Regions from separate parts of the Homo sapiens genome. Here region 2 is linked to region 1. Evidence: promoter capture Hi-C in 16 types of primary human blood cells and fetal thymus (Javierre and others, 2016). All regions are on one chromosome and are shown on one strand. Each heading gives the region's core, a stretch centred on a gene start or on the middle of the fragment in contact. The rest is flanking DNA. Distances are from core to core; before and after follow the strand shown. Region 1 holds the start of ZNF101 (zinc finger protein 101). Region 2 overlaps ZNF14 (zinc finger protein 14).

Region 1 (5,131 bases), core at 1,845-4,344:
TATGTTGGCCAGGTTGGTCTCGAACTCCTGACCTTGTGATCCGCCCACTTTGGTCTCCCAAAGTGCTAGGATTACAGGTGTGAGCCAGCGCTCCCAGTCTAATGTTTTGTGTTTTTAGTAGAGACGGGTTTCGCCATGTTGGCCAGTCTGGTCTCAAACTCATGGCCTCTAATGATCTGGCCGCCTCAGTCTCCCAAAGTGCTAGGATTACAGGTGTGAGCCACGGTGCCCAGTCCTAGTCTTGTTTTGTTTTCTTGGGACGGAGTCTCACTCTTGCCCAAGCTGGAGTGCAGTGTTGCAATCTAGGCTCACTGCAACCTCTGCCTCTTGGGTTCAAATGATTCTCCTGCCTCAGCCTCCTTAGTAGCTGGAATTACAGGCATGAACCACCATGCCTGCTAATTTTTGTATTTTTAGGAGAGACAGGGTTTCACCATGTTGGCCAGGCTGGTCTGGAACTCCTGTCCTGGCCTCAAGAGATCTGCCTGCCTCGACTTCCCAAAGTGCTACAGGTGTGACCCGCTGCGGCCACCCACTGCATATTCTGGTTTTTTTTTTTTTTTTTTTTTTTGAGACGGAGTCTCACTCTGTTGTCAGGCTGGAGGCTGGAGTGCAGTGGCGTGATCTCAGCTCACTGCAACCTCTGCCCTCGGAGTTCAAGCGATTCTCCTGCCTCAGCCTCCCGAGTAGCTGGGATTACAGGCGCCTGCCACTGCACCCAGCTAATTTTTTGTATTTTTAGTAGAGACGGGGTTTCACCTTCTTGGCCAGGCTGAGTCTTGAACTCCTGACCTCGTAATCCACCCGCCTCGGACTCCCAAAGTGCTGGGATTACAGGCGTGAGCCACCGGGCCCGGCTCTGGTTTTTTTTTTTTTTTTTTTTTTTTTTTTTTTTTTTTTTTTTTTGAGATGGAGTCATGCTCTGTCGCCCAGGCGCAATGCTGTGATCTCGGCTCACTGCAACCTCCTCCTCCTGGGTTCAAGCAGTTCTCCTGCCTCAGCCTTCTTAGTAGCTAGGATTACAGGCATGCGCCACCACACCTGGCTAATTTTTGTAATTTTAGTAGAGACGGTGTTTCACCATGTTGGGCAGGCTGGTCTCCTACTCCTGACCTCATGATCCGCCTGCCTGGGCCTCCCAGAGTGCTGGGATTACAGGCTGAGCCACCGTGCCCGGCTGCATATTATTAAGATACATGACTTCGTAAAAGGAGAAAGGAAATGTAATAGGACTTAATAATCACATAGTATCAAATAAGATAATCTTCAGTAAAAATAGGAATGACATGTTTCTGTCCCATGATACAGTTCGATATACTTACTTTTTCAGTTTTTTCTCCAATATTAATTCTTTCCCATACAAGGTCCAAGCTTCTGCTCTTGGAGTCTGGGACTGGACCCCTTTCTGGTAGCAATACCTTTATAGAATGTTTACTCCAGGCCGGGCACGGTGGCTCATGCCTGTAATCCCAGCACTTTGGGAGGCCAAGGCGGGCAGATCACGAGTTCAGGAGATCGAGACCATCCTGGCTAACACGGTGAAACCCCGTCTCTACTAAAAATACAAAAAAAAAAAAAAAAAAAAAAAATTGGCCGGGCATGGTGGCACATGCCTGTAGTTCCAGCTACTCGGACTCGGGAGGCTGAGGCAAGAGAATCTCTTGAACCTGGGAGGCAGAGGTTGCAATGAGCTGAGATCGTGCCACTGCACTCCAGCCTGGGCGACAGAGCCAGACTCCGTCTCAAAAAAAAAGAAAAAAAAAGTGGTTTACTCCAGTTTTTCCCTGCATTTAATAATTTTGTTCCCTTTAAGGCATGTTTTTATTTTCTTGGCTGAAAAGGAGTAGCCTGAGAAGAAGTAACGTGTAGGAAGCCTTGGCCATGGGACCAATAGCCTCATAAATTCCTGATCTCTGGAGGACATCAGGGCCTCCTACCTGTTCCATTGTGACCTGGGAGTCTCTCCAGCTCCAAGGTGGAGGGATGGCTTCACTGAACACGGAGTCTGGAATTCCGTGCACACTCATGTGACCGGTGTTCCGGAAAAAGAAGCAGGAGGCGGCTGGGCGCGGTGGCTCACGCCTGTAATCCCAGCACTTTGAGAGGCCGAGGCCGGCGGATCACGAGATCAGGAGTTCGAGACCAGCCTGGCCAACATGGTGAAACCCCATTTCTACTAAAAATACAAAAATTAGCCGGGAGTGGTGGTGGGCGCCTGTAATCGCAGCTACCCGGGAGGCTGAGGCAGGAGAATCGCTTGAAACCGGAAAGCGGAGGTTGCAGTTAGCTGAGATCGTGCCATTGCATTCCAGCCTGGGCAACAAGAGCGAAACTCCGTCTCAAAAAAAAAAAAAAAAAGCAGCAGGAAGGACCCACTGAGTACAGGAAGCCGACAGGGCCTGCTCCGGAAAACCAGGAGCTGTAAGGTCAGCCGAAAGGACGAAGAGACCTGAAGTCAGTCAAGTAAGTTTTATTAACCTGCTGGGCTGCTCCCCCACAGTTAGAGGAGGCAGCCCCGCTTACAGACTACAGCAGGGCTTTATAGGGCGAGGAACTGGGCTGGGGTGTGAGAACTGAGTCGGGGGTGCAGGTGTCCTGACCGCATCCTGGAGATGTTTTTGCCAGCTTTGTTATGCAAGGTGGGCAGGTGTTGTGACCGCATCCTGGAACTGTCTGCCGGTTCAGCTGAAGTCTTTTGAACAAACAGTTACTGGAAGGGTCAGTGGGGAGGAGGTCTACTTCTAGCCCGGGGGGAGTTGTGTGGCGGTCACAAAGGACTGTATTGTAAGACTGATGGGGGAAGGAGGGGAACAGTCTGGTTGGGTTGACCCTAACGGGAGCAAGTTCTGCTTCCATGCAAGTCCAGGTCCAAGGTCCCAGCGAGGGGCTGTGGGTAGCACCTGTCAGTCACACCCCACACAGCGAGCGGATTATTTGAGGATTCCGATCACCTCTCCTGTCGCTCAAGCCCCAGGGGCGGGACCTGGGGCACCAGCCAGTCAGAGGCGCTGTGCGGCAAACTGTCCAATCAGGTGCGCCGGGAGGAGGGGCAACTTCCAAAGCCCGAAGCGGTCTCATTTCCCGCCGGCCCCCCATTCGGGTCCGGGTTTTAGTTCCTCGGGGAGCCCCTGGTGCCCCGGATACGGCTGATTTTGTCGTGTGGGACCTGTTCTGGCTGCTCCAGCCCCAGGAAGGACCCAGGACACCCGGAAGCCGGAAATGGTGAGCGTGCGGAGCCGGGCGTCCGGAGACCTGAGGAGGAGCTGGTCGGAACCGGCAGTGGCTGGACCTGGGCCTCCCCGCGGCGACTGTGGGGGTCTGGGACCCGAGTCCCCCAGGCGCAGCTCGACCCTTGGTCCCCTCGGTCGCCGGGTGGAGCTGGACCAGCCGCCGGGACCCCGGGTGTCCTGTCCCGGCCCCGGAGCCCTCTCAGGGCAGCTCCGCGCCCGCAGCCCCGCGTCTCCCCAGATCGTGCGGGGGCCTCAGGAGGGTCTTAGGGGGAATCCCGCCTCGGGTGTGGGGTTCGTGCGGGAGGAGCCGTGGCCTGTGGGGTCCCCAGTTCCTCCTCCCTTAGGCGGTCCCCGTTTCCTTCGGAGTCTTCCAAAGGTGTGGGAAGCTGGGTTTCAAACCCACGACCCCGTCCCCCAGCTTCGCTCCTCCCAGGGCTGCAGTAAATCCCTAAATTTCCCCGCATTCCCCAACCCTAAGTTCTCCCTCCAGTACATCCACTTCACATTATTATTATTATCATTATTTCTATTATTTTTGAGACGGAGTCTCACTCTGTCGCCCAGGCTGGAGTGCAGTGGCACTGTCTGGGCTCACTGCAGCCTCCGTCTTCCGGGTTCAAGTGATTCTCCTGCCTCAGCCTCCTGAGTAGCTGGAATTACAGGTGCCCGCCACCACGTCCGGCTAACTTGTATTTTCAGTAGAGACAGGTTCACCATGTTGGCCGTGCTGAAGTCCTGATCTCAGGTATCTGCCTGCCTCGGTCTCCCAAAGTGCTGGGATTACAGGCTTGAGCCACTGCGCCTGGCAAGACCCAGTGTTTTAACTGTCATCTTTTCCAAGGAGCCCTAGATGGCACTTCTTAAAAAGTTCATTTTCCGTTTGTGAACATTTCACATGCGAGCAAAGCAGAAAATAACCCCCTGACACTCCGATGTTAAAAAAAAAAAATCACTGTGCCTGCCCTCTTTTTACCTTCCCTAGGCGCGGCCACCTTATCAGACAGTCTTTGGGTGGAGGCTTCTCTTGGGAACTTCACAGGGTATTGGGTCCTCAGCCCACCCTCCTATCTTTCTGGTCCTGGGTTTCAGGACCGTCCAGGGACTTCTTCCAGCTGCCCTCGGAAGAACGGGTGAAAAGTCTGTCCTGGCGTGGTTAATCTTTCCTGGTTGTTTGATGAGCCTCCTAGGGAGGAGTTCTTGTCTTTTGAAAAGAAGTTTCCTTAGGAAATTCCAGAGGGATTCCCTGCTGGCCCTTGGGGGTGGGGTGGGGCCAGAAACAGTAGAAAGAAACTTCTCCCTTCTGAGGCAGCTCAGGGTGGCATGCAGTGGCACAGTCATGGCTTACTACGGCCTCAACCTCTGGGGCCCAAGCAATCCTCCTGCCTCAGTCTTCCAAGAAGCTGGGACCACAGGCATGCGCCACGCCCGGCTAGTTTTTATTTTTTGTAGAGACAAGGTCTCACTATGTTGCCCAGTCTGCTCTGGAAGTCAAAAGCGATTCTCCTGCCCAGGTGGCTCACGCCTGTAATTCCAGCACTTTGGGAGGCTGGGGCGGGAAGATCTCTTGAGCCCAGAAGTTTGAGACCATCCTGGGCAAAGTGGCGAGACCCCATTTCTACAACAAATACAAAAATTAGCCGGGTATGGTGGCGCATGCCTGTAGTCTCAGCTACTCAGGAGACTGAGGTGGGAGAGCCACCTGAACCCGGGGAGGTTGAGACTGCCGTTAGCTGTGATTGCGCCACTGCACTGAACGACAGAGTGAGACCCTGTCTTTAAAAAAAAAAAAGGAAATCTTCCATTATGGCTGCAGAATATGAATACATTCCCACAAAAAAAAGGCATGGTAGGTCGGGCGCGATGGCTCACGCCTGTAATCCCAACACTTTGGGAGGCAGAGG
Region 2 (5,131 bases), core at 258-2,757, 43 kb after region 1:
TAGTGTAGGTCTCAACAGAGGACATATTATGAGAGAAAACTTAAGGATCCCTACCTCATACCCAGAGACCTCAAATAGCAGCATGAACTACTCAACCAAGACTCAGCCAGATTGGATAGAAAAAAATAACTACAGAAGTAAAAAATGCTGTTGCTGAATTGGAAATTAGCTCTCATATGGTTTCTTCTGTAGAATCCACTGAAGAATGAGTCACATCTAAATCAATATGTCCTTTGGAAAGCATAATGAGAATATGTTCCAGTTTTAAAGAAAAATGTTATAATTTATAAGATTGTAAAATTTTATTACTGGGCTGTTTACATGATACTTTCTTTCTTATTAAATATAACCTGACAATCTTTATTAAATGAAAATATTTTTGTATCATCAACAACAACAAAAGAACTAGGATGAAGAATTTCCCACATTCTTAATATTTATAGGGTTTCTCTCCAGTATACATTCTCATGTGTGCTCAAAAGGCTGTGTGAAGGCTTTCCCAAATGTCTTACATTTATAGACTTTCACCCCACTCTGACTCCTTTCATATATTCACACTCTAGAGGACAGTTGGAAGATTTTCCCACTTTTATTTTTTCTTGAGACAGTGTCTCATTCTGTCGCACAGGCTGGAATGCAGTGGCGTGATCTCAGCTCACTGCAACCTCTGTCTCCAGGTTCAAGTGATTCTCCTGCCTTAGCCTCCTGAGTAGCTGGGATTAGAGGCATGCACTACCATGCCTGGTTCATTTTTTGGTAATTTTTAGTAGAGATGGGGTTACACCATGTTGACCACGCTGGTCTCGAATTTCTGACCTCAAATGATCTGCCTGCCTTGCACCTTGGCCTCCCAAAGTGCTGGGACTATAGGCATGAGCCAACAAGCTTGGCCTTTTTTAAAAAAACAAAAAACAAAAAACAAAACAGATTTCACTGCAGCACGAGTCCTGTCTTTGAAATGAATTAGGTCAACTGAAGGCTTAATCACAATGTTTACATTCATACTGTTTCTCACCAGTGGGAATTCTTTCGTGCTCAAAAGAAACTGGAACAATTAAGGGCTTTAGAACAATGTTTGTATTCACACAGCTTCTGTCCAGTATGAACTCTTTTGTGTATTCAGAAGGAGCTGGAACAACCGAAGGCTTCAGAATGTTGCTTATATTCTTAGACTTTCTCTCCCATATGAGTCCTTTCATGCAGTCGAAAGTGACTGGAAGAAATGAAGGCTTTTCCACATTGTTTGCATTCATAAGGTTTCTCTCCAGTGTGAGACCTTTCATGAATTCGAACAGAACTTGAAAATCTGAAGGCTTTCCCACATTGTTTACATCGATAGGGTTTCTCTCCCGTGTGAGTTCTCTCATGCATTCGAAATTTACTGGAAGAAATGAAGGCTTTTCCACATTGTTTACATTGATACGGTTTCTCTCCAGTGTGAGTCCTTTCATGCAATCGAATTTGACTGGAACGAAGGAAGGCCTTACCACATTGCTTACACTCAAAAGGCTTATTTCCAGTGTGAATTTTTTCATGTTCTCGAAGGGAACTTGAAAAACTGAAGGTTTTACCGCATAGTTTACATTCATAGGGTTTCTCTCCAGTGTGTGTTCTTTCATGCAGTCGAAAGGAACTGGAACGAATGAAAACTTTTCCACACTGTTTACATTCATAGGGTTTCTCTCCAGTGTGTGACCTTTCATGAATTCGAAAATAACTTGAACACCTGAAGGCTTTCCCACACTGTTTACATTCATAGGGTTTCTCTGCATTGTGAGTCCTTTCATGTCTTTGAAGGGAACTTGAAAAACTGAAGGTTTTACCACATTGTTTACATTCATAGGGTTTCTCTCCAGTGTGAGTTGTTTCGTGTTCTCGAAGGGAACTTGAAAAACTGAAGGTTTTATGACACTGTTTACACTCATAAGGTTTCTCTCCAGTATGAGTTCTTTCATGCAATCGAAGAGAAATGGACCAACTGAATGATTTGCCACATCGTTTACATTCATATGGTTTTTCTCCAATATGAGTTCTTTCATGCACTCGACAGGAATTAGAAGAGTTGAAGGCTTTCCCACATTCTTTACATTTATAAGGTCGAGCCCCAGTGTGTATTATTACATGTGCTCGAAAGCTTGCAGAATAAAAGAAGGCTTTTCCACATTCTTTACATTCATAGGGTTTCTCTCCACTATGAGTCCTTTTATGCCTTCGAAAAGAACTGAGAAAACTGAAGGCTTTACCACATTCTTTACATTTGTAGGGTTTTTCTCCAGTGTGAGTTCTTTCATGAGTTCGAAAGTATGTGGGACAACTGAAAGCCTTACCACATTGCTTACATTCATAGGGTTTCTCTCCAGTGTGAGTCCTTTTGTGTCTTTGAAAAGATTGGTAACATATAAAGGCTTTCCCACACTGTTTACATTCATAGGGTTTCTTTCCAGTATGAGCATGTTTTTGAAAAGACTGGTAATATATAAAGGTTTTTCCACATTGCTTACATTCATAGGGTTTCTGTCCAGCATGAGTCCTTTCATGTCTTTGAAATGGCTGGTAATATATAAAGGCTTTCCCACACTGTTTACATTCATAGGGCTTCACTCCAGTGTGAGTTCTTTCATGTTTGCGAAAGCAGTGGTGATAACTGAAGGTTTTCCCAACTGCTTTACATTTACATGGTTGCTTTTCATATTCCTGATACTCATTTGGTTTCTGTCCAGTGTGAGATCTCATGTGCCTATTAAGGGACGAATGATGAATGAAGTCTCTTCCACAAAAGCTGCATTCATGTGGTTTTGCTCCAGTAAAAGTTTCCTTGTTGATATTAACATTTGGCATCTGGCTAGTGGTTTCTCCACATTTGCTACCTCTTCTACTTTCACAGAGTCTCTCAACCATATGACATCTGTAAAAAATGAATAGCACATTATTAGTGGCTTTTTAATTATTTTGTATTTATTAGTAGGTATGAGAATTACATTTTAACCATTTTCAGAAAAAGTATAGGATATCTGCCCTGTCTGAATTGTTTTAAAGTTAATATATTCAATGCTCTGGAAGAAGACTCAACCATAGTTATGATCAAAACAGTCAATTTTTTTGTTGTTGTTGTTTAAATAAGAGATGGAGTCTCATTCTCTCACCCAGGCTGGAGTACAGTGGCATGATCACAGCTCACTGAAGCCTTGAATTCCTGGGCTCAACCAATCCTCCCATCTCAGCCTCCTGAGCAGGTGGGACTAGAGAGTGCCACCATGCCTGGCTAATTTTTTTTTTTTTTCCAAGATGGAGTCTTGCTCTGTTGCCCAGGCTGGAGTACAGTGGCACGATCTAGGCTCACTGCAGCTTCTGCCTCCTGGGTTCCAGCAATTTTCCTGCCTCAGCCTCCTGGGTAGCTGGGATTATAGGAGCACACCACCACAGCTGGCTAATTTTTGTATTTTTAGTAGAGATGGGGTTTTGCCATGTTGGCCAGGCTGGTCTTGAACTCCTGACCTCAGATGATCTGCCTGCCTTGGCCTCCCAAAGTGCTAGGATTACAGGCATGAGCCACTGTGCCAGGCCTTTTTTTTTTTTTTTCCCCAGATGAGGTCTTGCTATATTACCCAGGCTGGTCTTGAATTCCAGGCCTCAAGTGATCCTCCTACCTCAGCCTCCCAAACTGCTGGGATTACCTACATGAACTATTGTGCCTGGCCAAAATAATAATATTTATAAAAGGGGTTTCTAAATGCTATTTCGAAGTGATTTATTTTTCACATCCTGAACATCTATGATGTTTTTAAGAAAACATTTTCAGTGAAAGTTTTCTAGGAATAAATAAATTTGAAGCTGTGCTTAATTGTTTTGCTTGCTTTCTTTTGAAATTCCCCCACGGGCCACTATTTTTCTGTGGATGCAACTCACCTTCGATTTTTCCCCTGGTTTCTGTGGTCATCTTCAATGTCCTGGTCTTCCCACTTTTTTCCTAAAATGCATACCCAGAAAGACCATTAAAAATTATTAGAAATTATAGAAAATTGTTACAGTCTAGTTTCATGATTAGCTGTGACTGTCTGATTCAATCACTGAAAGATTCCCTTTCCACATTTCAAATCTTGGAACACAGCTGTTGAGCAAGAAACACTTGTTCTGTGTTCTATATTTAACTGAGGAAAGAAATGTTGATATCCTTACCTAGACAAACCAGGTTTTTGAAGGTCTCCTGCATCACATCTTCATAGAGCTTTTTCTGTGAAGAATCCAGCAAAGCCCACTCCTCCAGGGTGAAGTTCACGGCCACATCCTCAAAGGAGACTGAGTCCTGAAACATTCCACATATGTTTACAGAGGATGGGTAAGACTGGCAGTACTGGGGATCTATACTTGATTTGTAAGAAGTTCCCATACAATTCTGTGTTCTCCAAACATTTGGTGTATGACTCAGCTGTCAGAACTACGACTGTCCACACTGACTTCCTCATAAAATTCATGCTGTCATGAACACACAGAAATTACTTCTATTTTTTTCTTTTTCCTTTTTCTTTTTCTTTTTTTTTTTTTTTTGAGACAGAGTCTTGCTTTATTGCCCAGGCTGGAGTTCAGTGGTGCGATCTTGGCTCACTGCAACCTCTGCCTCTGGAGCTCAAATGATTCTCGTGCCCCAGCCTCCTAAGTAGCTGGGACTACAGGTGTGTACCATACCTATCTAATTTTTTGTATTTTTAGTAGAGACGGGGTTTCACCATGTTGGCCAGGCTGGTCTCGAACTCCTGAGCTCAGGCAATTTGCCCGCCTCGGCCTCCCAAAGTGCTAGGATTACAGGCGTGAGCCACTGTGCCTGGTCAATTACTTCTAAATTTTTACTGTGATCATGTGAAACCTTATTGTTCTCTAAAGGTGGACTCAAGCTCACACTGGAAAAGTAAGAGAAATGCTATACAAATGAAACAAATTTTAAGACCATTAATCCCTTGTGAGAAAAACTCATTTCCTACCTTATTACGTACCATATCACTCAGCATTTCATTACGCATGGAATCAATCTGGATAAGGTTTTAATAAATAAATACACCTTCAAGAACTGTAGGCTTTTCTTTTATTCCCATCAACAAACGAGAGGCCAGGAGGCCTGTGGAAAGCTAAATTGTCA

What was found. Contacts are between HindIII fragments. The CHiCAGO score rates a contact against its expected background, and 5 or more counts as called.
Region 2: a contact is called between a fragment that was not itself captured here and the fragment with the promoter of ZNF101 in region 1, in 2 of 17 cell types (non-activated CD4 T cells and naive CD8 T cells). The highest score is 6.1, in non-activated CD4 T cells.

Annotation. Positions count from the first base shown.
Region 1 is chr19:19,665,745-19,670,875 of GRCh38, forward strand. ZNF101 (zinc finger protein 101) reads left to right here and starts at 3,095. Exons shown (of 4, transcript NM_033204.4): 1 at 3,095-3,222. The coding sequence starts at 3,220. RefSeq lists enhancers at 2,784-3,350, 3,351-3,916 and a silencer at 3,305-3,504. The HindIII fragment of the contact is 10,038 bases long and covers 1,370-5,131 here.
Region 2 is chr19:19,710,185-19,715,315 of GRCh38, forward strand. ZNF14 (zinc finger protein 14) reads right to left here. Exons shown (of 4, transcript NM_021030.3): 2 at 4,177-4,303; 3 at 3,907-3,967; 4 at 288-2,905. The coding sequence ends at 1,168. Among named protein-coding and RNA genes, the nearest start is that of ZNF14, 20 kb to the right of the region's middle. The HindIII fragment of the contact is 1,249 bases long and covers 884-2,132 here.